Regions from separate parts of the Homo sapiens genome. Here region 1 is linked to region 2. Evidence: promoter capture Hi-C in 16 types of primary human blood cells and fetal thymus (Javierre and others, 2016). All regions are on one chromosome and are shown on one strand. The core of a region is centred on a gene start or on the middle of the fragment in contact, and the rest is flanking DNA. Distances in the headings are between cores, read along the strand shown.

Region 1 (4,529 bases), core at 1,275-3,774, 990 kb before region 2:
GTGATCATCCCCAAGACACATAATCATCAGATTCTCTAAGGTCTAAATGAAAGAAAAAAAAAATGTTACAGGCAGCTAGAGAAAAGCAGCAGGTCACCTACAAAGGGAAACCCATCAGGCTAACAGTGAACTTTTCAGCAGAAACCCTACAAGCCAGAAGAGATTGGTGGCCTATATTTGGCATTCTTGAGAAATTCCAACCAAGAATTTCATATGCAGCAAACTAAGCTTCATAAGCAAAGGAGAAATAAGATTCTTTTCAGACAAGCAAATGCTAAGAAAATTTGTTGCCACCAGACCTGTTTTGCAAGAGGCCCTCAGGGCAGTACTAAATAACAAAAAGACCATTACTGGCCACCATGGAAACACACTTAAGAACATAGAACATAAACACTAAAATAAATTAATAAATAAAACCAAACAACAACAACAACAAAAACACACAATCAAGTCAGTATTATAACCAGCTGACAACAAGATGACAGCATCAAATCTGTACATATCAATATTAATCTTGAATGTAAATGGGCTAAATGCCCCAATTAAAAGACACGGAGAGGAAAGTTTGATAAGGAAGCAAGAACCAATTTTGTGTTGTTTTCAAGAGACTCATCTAACATGCAATAACACCCAGAGCCTCAAAGTAAAGGAATGGAGAGTAATCTAAGCAAATAAAAAAACAGAAAAAAGCAGGGATTGCTATTCTAATTTCAGACAAAACAGACATTTAAACAACAATCAAAAGAGACAAAAAAGGCATTACATAATGATAAAGGGTTTAGTTCAACAAGAAGACCTAACTATTCAAAATACACATGCACCAAACACAGGAGCACCTAGATTAATAAAGCAAATCCTCAGAGACCTAGCTAAGTGTAAGAGACACAGATAACTACACAATAATAGCGGGAGAATTTAACACCCCACTGACAGTATTAGACAGATCACTGAGGCAGAAAACCAAGATATTTGTAAACTGAACTTGATGCTTGACCAAATGGACCTAATAGACATCTACAGAACTCTCCACCCAAAACAATGGAATGTACATTCTTCTCATCTATCTGTACATGGTACTTACTCTACAACTGACCACACAATCAGACATAAAGCAAGCCTCAGCAAATAGAAATCATACCAACCACACTCTCAGACCACAGTGCAATGAAAATAAAAATTAATACTAAGAAGATTGCTCAAAACCTTACAATTACATAGAAATTACACAACTTGTTCCTGAATAAGTTTTGGAAAAACAATGAAATTAAGGCAGAGATAAAGAAATTCTTTGAAAATAATGAGAGCAAGATACAACATATCAGAATTTATGGGACTCAGCTAAAGCACTGTTGAAAGTTTATAACACGTAAACACTCCCGTCAAAAAGTTAGAAAGATTTTATGTAAACAACCTAACATCACACCTAAAGGAATTAGAAAAACGAGAGCAAACCAACCCCAAAGCTAGCAGAAGACAGGAAATAACCAAAATCAGAATTGAACTGAAGGAAATAGAGACACGAAAACTCAAAAAAAAAAAAAAAAAGATTTTAGATTGCTAGCTAGACTAAAAAGAAAAAGATCCCCCCCCCCCCCACCAAATGCAATCAGAAATGACAAAGGGGACATTACCGTTGACCCCACAGAAGTACAAAAACCCTCAGAGACTATTATGAACACCTCTATGCACACAAACTACAAAACCTCAAAGAAATGGATCAATTCTTGGAAAAGTACAATGTCCAATGATTGAACCAGGAAGAAACTGAATCTCTGAACAGATTAATACTGAGTTCCAAAATTGAATCAGTAATTAAAAGCCTACCATCCAAAAAAATTCCAGGCCCAGGCATATTCACAGCTGAATTCTACCAGACATGTAAAGAAGAGCTGGTACCATTCCTACTGAAACTATTCTGAAAAATTGAGGAGGAGGGACTCATTCCTAACTCATTGTATGAAACCAGCATCATTCTGATACAAAAACCTGGCAGAGACACAACCAAAAAACAAACAAACAAACAAACACACAATAAAAAAAAAAACTTCAGGCAAATATCCTTGATGAATATCAATGCAAAAGTTCTCAAGAAAAATACTAGCAAACTGAATCCAGAAGCATATAAAAAACCTTATCCAGGAAAATCAAGTAGGCTTTATCCCTGGGTTGCAAGGTTGGTTCAACATGTAAATCAATAAATGTCATTCATCACATAAACAGAACTAAAAATGAAAACAAATTATCATCTCAGTAGATGCAGAAAAGACTTGATAAAATTCAACACCTCTTCATGTTAAAAACTCTCAAACTAGGCATGGAAGGAGTATACCTCAAAATAAGAGCCATCCATCACAAACCCACAGCCAACATCATACTGGACAAACAAAAGCTGGAAACACTCTCCTTAATCAGAACAAGAAAAGGATGTCCACTCTCACCATGCCTATTCAACATAGTACTGGAAGTCCTAGTCAGAGCAATCAGGCCAGAGAAAGAAATAAAAGGCATCCAAATAGGAAGAGAAAAATCAAACTATCTTTGTTTACAGATGATCTGATTCTACACCTAGAAAACCCTATAGTCTCTGCCCAAAAGCCCCTTGATCTGTTAAACAACTTCAGTAAAGTTTCAGGATGCAAAATCAATGTACGAAAATCAGCAGCATTCCCATACACCAACCACATCCAAGCTGAGAGCCAAATCAAGAATGCAACCCCATTCACAAAAGCCACAAAAAGAATAAAATACCTAGGAATACAGCTAACCAGAGAATGAAAGATCTCTGCAATGATAGTTACAAAACACTGCTGAAAGAAATCAGATGACACAAATGGAAAAACATTCCATGCTCATAGATAGGAAGAATCAATATTGTCAAAATAGCCACACTGCTCAAAGCAATCTAAAGATTCAGTGCTATTCCTATCAAACTACCAATGACATTCTTCACAGAATTAGAAAAAAACTATTTTAAAATTAATATGGAACCAAAAAAGAGCCTGAATAGCCAAAGCAATCCTAAGCAAAAAGAACAAAGCTGGAGACATCACACTACCCAACATGAAATGATACTACAAGGCTGCAGTAACCAAAATAGCATGGTACTGGTACAAAAATAGACACACAGAACAATGGAATAGAATAGAAAGCCCAGAAATAGAGGTACACACCTTCAAACATCTGATCTTTGACAAAGTCTACAGAAACAAGCAATGGAGAAGGACTCTGTATTCAATAAATGGTACTGGGGAAACTGGCTAGCCATATGCAGAAGATTGAAACTGGACTCCTTTCTTGTATACCATATACAAAAATCGACTTGAGATTTGTTAAAGACTTAATGTAAAATCTAAAACTAAAAATCCTAGAAGAAAACTTAGGAAATACCATTCTGGACACAGATCCTGGCAAAGATTTCATGATGAAGAGATGAAGATGGTAAAAATAATTACAACAAAAACAAAAATTGACAAGTGGGACCTAACAAACCAAAGTACTTCTGCACAGCAAAACCAAAACAAAAACAAACAAAACCTATCAACAGAATAAACAGACAACCTACGGAATGGGAGAAAATATTTGGAAACTACACATTCAACAAAGGTTAAAATCCAGAATCTATAAGAAACTTAAACAAATTTGCAAGCAAAAAACAACCCTGTTGAAAAGTAGACAAAGACATGAACAGACACTTTTCAAAAGAAGACATACATGCGGTCAACAAGCATGTGAAAAAACCCTCAACATCACTAATCATTAGAAAAATGCAAATCAAAACCACAATGAGATACTGTCACATACCAGTGAGAATGGCTGTTATTAAAAAGTGAAAAAATAACAGATGCTGGTGAGGTTGTAGAGAAAAGGGAATGCTTATACACTGCTGGTGGGAAAGTAAATTATTAGTAGTTCACTTATTGTAGAAAGCAGTTAAGCCTTTCTCAAAGAGCTTAAAAGGGTATATACCCAGTAATGGATATAGTACACAGGCATATATACACATATGCACAATGGAATACTATACAGCCATAAAACAGAATGAGATCATGTCCTTTGTAGCAATATAGATGGATTTGGAGGCCATTATCCAAAGTGAACTAATGTGGGAACAGAAAAGGAAATACCACATGTTCTCAAGTATAAGTGGGAGCTGGAGGCCATTATCGTAAGTGAACTCATGCAGGAACAGAAAACCAAATACTACATGTTCTCATTTATAAGTGGGAGCTAAATATTGAGTACACATGGACACAGAGATGGGAACAACAGACACCAGGGCCTACCTGAGGGTGAAAAATGGGAGGAGGGTGATGATAGAAAAAAAAATTTACCTGTCAGGTACTGTGCTTATTACCTGGGTGATGAAATCTGTATACCAAATAATCTGTATACCAAACCTCCTTGACAGCCAATTTACCTATATAACAAACTTGCACATGTACCCATAAAGATTTTCTTTATGTGCGCCAAGGAGACTCTGGCTTTCACGCTTAGTTTATTTTTCCCACTAAACCACAAATTTGACAAAA
Region 2 (4,444 bases), core at 812-3,311:
TATAAATATAAAATAAGCCCTAAGGGCATGTTACTGAGTTGTTCTTCAATCACTTAAAACAGTGCGGATGCAAATACTAAGAAGAAAGAAAGTGGATTTATCTGAGGTGAGCTTTGCCTGGGAAGATCAATAAATTGAAAGAGAAACAGGAGAATTGAGGGTATACAGAAGGAAGTGATTAAAATAATTGCATGAAAAAATTCAAGTAAGGAGGAAAATGAAAATATGAGTGTACTGGCTTGAATTGTGTCTCCCAAAAAGATATGAGGAAGTCCTAACCCCCGGTACCTGTGAATGTCACCTTTCCTGAAAAGAGAGTCTTAGCAGACCTTATCAAGTTAAGATGAGGTCATGAGGGTGGTCCCCAGCCAAAGATGACTAGCGTTTTTTTAAGTACAGAGGACAGAGACATAAAGGGAGAAGATGGCCATGTGGTAACAGAAGCAGCTGTTGGAGTGATACACCTATAAAACAAGGAGTTCAGGCTGTCAGCAAACACCAGGAGGTGGAAGAGGTAAGGAGGATTCTTCCCTACAGGTCTCAGAGGGAGCATGGCTCTGCTGACACCTTGATTTTTGACTTCTGGCCTCCAAAAGTGTGAGACAATAAAGTTCTGTTTTAGGTCACTCAGCTTGTAGTACTTTGTTAGTGCAGTCTTAGGAAATGCATTCATTTATATGTTGTCTGTGGTTAATTTACCACCAGAATGGCAGAGGTGAGTGGTTGTGATAGAGATTGCATGGTCCTACAAAACCTAAAATATTTCTTATTTGTCCCTTTATAGAAGTTTGTTAACTCCCTCATCTAGAGTTTGGAAATGGGAATGAAAGGCTGAAGTAGGCTACAATCCAATGCAAGGTTGCACATAAGAAGCTCTGAATAAGTGTAAACATTATGTGCATTCAAAACAGTAACATTAACTGTGGACTCTGGAAATAAGAAAAGGAATCGTGTTGGAGAGTGAGACTGAGCCAGTTGGGAATAGACAAAATTACATTCTCAAGGGAGAATTTCATTTCTTGGTGAGGAAAATTATGCCCTTTGGGCTGGTAAATACTGTCTCCTCTTGAATAAAACAGTGGTCTGGCCACCTGTTAGACACTGAGAAGTCTAGACTAACACTCAATGTATTCGGATGTTTGCTCACTATTTCCGATGGAAAAGTCTGGTTTGATTGTTAAAGTAAAATATTTGGCCTTTCAGAGTGTGAAAACACCATTGCTTCATTGCAAGGTTTAATATAAACCCATTTTTCTTGCATTTTCTTTTCTTTCTTTTGTAGTAAAATGTGCTTGAATAATATTAACTATTCTGACCATTATGTGAACTAAATATATATATATATAAAATGATGATACCTTCCGCTCATTTGCAATGTGCTTTTGAATACATTATATAATTTAATCCTTAAAACAGCCCTATAAATCTGTTTTTTTTTTTTTTAAACAAAAAAATTCTGCTTTACAAAGGAAGAAGTTGAGACTCAGTAAAATTAAGTGACCATCCCAGAGTCTCAGCCACTTAAGAGTAGGGTGAATCTTGGATAATTCTGGTAGCAAATTTATTTATTGGTAGAAAATAAATGCAAACTACTACTGCTTAAGATCCTCTAAAGTTTTTCTCTTGGAAAAAGAATGTATTAGAATTGTGGACTTTCTCAGTGCAAGGATTTATTTATCCTTGGAATTAGGCAGAATAAACAATTGAATGCCAAAAATTCAACGTGTTTCTTTTCTGTTTTCAAAACTCATAGAAATTGTAAATATGAGCAACTGATCATGTCTCTGAGAATTAACTCTTTTTGTACAGAGCGCTGCAGAGCTTTGATTGTGACCTGATACTTGGTCCTTAAAGATTCTAGAACACCAATGGAAAAGAAAACCATGTAGCAAATTAGCCCAAGAACCGTTAAAGACAAAACAAAACAAACCAAAACCAAAACACACAAACAAAGAAAACACAAGGATCCCAGTGATGTCCCTAAGGAATAGTTGGCTTAAAAACTTTCTGGAAGGAGGAGGGGTCTCTGTTATAAACTTCCGCCCTCCTCTGGCTTCTGTTCCTTACCCTCTGCCCCCTGCGGAGTTGTGTTTTCTGGGAATCAGCAAGTAAGATCACAAGTGGTCTTTTCTTTTATTCACTCTCTCCCATAAAGAAAGCTTTATCACGTGTGGCCTTAAACTTGCAGCAAATTGCAAAGAAATGGCTCAAAAGCTTCAGCTCTTTCTGTGCCCTGGGAGCTGAGATGCACGTCAGTGGCCTTGCCAGCGTGGCCAATTCTCTGCTGACTGCCAGAAAAAAGAGGCCAGGAAGAAAGAGGAAAGAGAAGAGATCGCTCAGGGGTGAGACCATGCCCTTCATCTTTTCTTTTCCCTAATCTCCTCTGCTTGTGTCCACCCACACTCTCCCCACCTGGCAAAATTGTTCAAAATTGCTGTGGAGTTTACCTCAGTTTCCTCTTTCAGTCTGTGGTGTGTGGTCCATCCTCTTGCTGAGCACATTGAAAGGAACTGGCTATCTTTGATCTCTTCCTCCAGGTAAGACTTGGTTCTCTCATTTTATATTTTGTGACTAATACATCAGATTCTTATGGGAGATTAACCCTTAATTTCTGTGCGATTTATGTTTTATCCATAAAAATATCAGTGAAAGGTGATGATCCCCTCATTAGTTTGATGGAAATAAGAGAGAAGATTGGTTAAAGAAATCAGATAAACTCAAATTTGAGTTCAAATTTTGAGTCTCATGCTTATAAATTGTTTAGCTTTTGACAAGTCACTTAATTGCTTTGGGCCATCTAATTTAAAAAATGGAATTCTAATATTACGTTTGTTGGGTTGTTTTAAGGATTAGAAAAAGTACGTACATTACTCAACACAAAAATAGTACTTATTAAATCTGAATCTGACACAGATAATTTGTATTAGGTGAGAAATTAGTTTCTAAACAACACACACTCCTCTGCAGCAAGTGCCGTGAGGCTATTTTTTAGTTTGTCTGAAGGGAGGCATCCTGGTGTCCAGAAGTCAAGCCAGGACAGAGGTTTTCCTCACAGGAGATGGCCAAGAGAAGAGAGGGAGGAGCGTGGTTGCCTTTAGGACTTTCTCTGTGGCAGTCCTTGGGGACTGATTGCTGGACAGAGTCCGAGTCAGTTGCAGAGCAGAGGGGTTGAGTACATCTGCGGGATCTAACTACAACCTTCCTAAGCCACTTGCTCTCTCCATTTAAAATCTGGAGGGCTGATTTTGAAACTAATGAGGACTGATTATTCAATGTTTTTGAACCAAAGGAAGAGAAACTGCTTGGCTTGTTTTTCTTTGGCCTCCAGAATAAGTTATGCTCCAAACCCAGGGTATTGGATGAAAACTGTCGTATGTCTTTTCCTGGAAGAATCTATTCAAGTGGCCAGAGATCAATTAAGGATTTGCCAAATGCAAATAATTCTGAATAACTGTGTACTCTTGCTCTACTTCTGCAGTTGCAAATGAAGAGAGAGAGCCTGCAGGCCCCAAGGATCTTTCCGTTCATGTCATTGAGCTTCCTTCCCTCTCTTTTTACAGGGGATGAACTGTAGCCTCCTTGGAACATACTACACTTGCAATAATTTGCGCATTAACCATCAAGACACTTCAGTAAAGCTATGCAGTGCCAATAGTTTAAGCTGGATCCTATTTTGCCCTAACACAAAGTGAACTGAGATGACTATATTTATATTTCATTATACTTTTGAATTTTAGTTACAGTGATTTTTGTGTCAACACCTCCATATATTAGATAACTTAAAATGTGCTATAGTATCTCAAGTTTTTCAGTAGTGTTTTTAACATAATTATTTTTTCTCTTTGACATTAGCATTCTAGATGTAACACTTTGGATCTTTTAAAGATAAATTTAGGATAAATGATAGCAGATTTTATTATTAAACAATTTATTTGTATTTTCTGGTCACTGACTTTAATATTATGACTGATGAGAAATAATATGATATCTGAATCCCCAAAAACAGAAGGCCAATTTGAATTATATAATTTAATCCTTTGAAGAATATTGCAATTTAAGCCAGAAATTTAATAATTATCCGTTTCTTATTTTAAAACCTTTCTGGTTTGTATATCTCTTGCTTGGCAATATTTTTACTCATAGTTTTGTAGTAAAGATACCTATTTAACATTGTATAACTCTGCATTTCCCAAACCCTGTTTTCCTTGTCCTGGCAAAATACTGTTCTAGAAAAGTAGTCCTAGTGACTCAGTAGATATAGGAAGTTGGCTGTTGGTATCAGATACTGTTAAGGAAGAATCTCTATATTCTTCATTTCTTAAACTTTGTTTTTTAAATCAGTAATAGATGTCGAATTTTATCAACTGATGTTTTTCATGTAATGAAATTCTATTTTTTATTTTGAATTATTCATGTGGTAATTTAGGTGAATAAATTTCCTGTA

What was found. Contacts are between HindIII fragments. The CHiCAGO score rates a contact against its expected background, and 5 or more counts as called.
Region 1: a fragment that was not itself captured here is called in contact with the fragment with the promoter of SLCO1C1 in region 2 in 1 of 17 cell types (monocytes); the score reaches 5.3 in monocytes.

The regions. Positions count from the first base shown.
Region 1 is chr12:19,702,448-19,706,976 of GRCh38, forward strand. No RefSeq gene overlaps it. Among named protein-coding and RNA genes, the nearest start is that of AEBP2, 270 kb to the left of the region's middle. The HindIII fragment of the contact is 4,597 bases long and covers 227-4,529 here.
Region 2 is chr12:20,693,271-20,697,714 of GRCh38, forward strand. It overlaps SLCO1C1 (solute carrier organic anion transporter family member 1C1), which reads left to right and starts at 2,062. Exons shown (of 15, transcript NM_017435.5): 1 at 2,062-2,537. The HindIII fragment of the contact is 4,383 bases long and covers 1-2,157 here.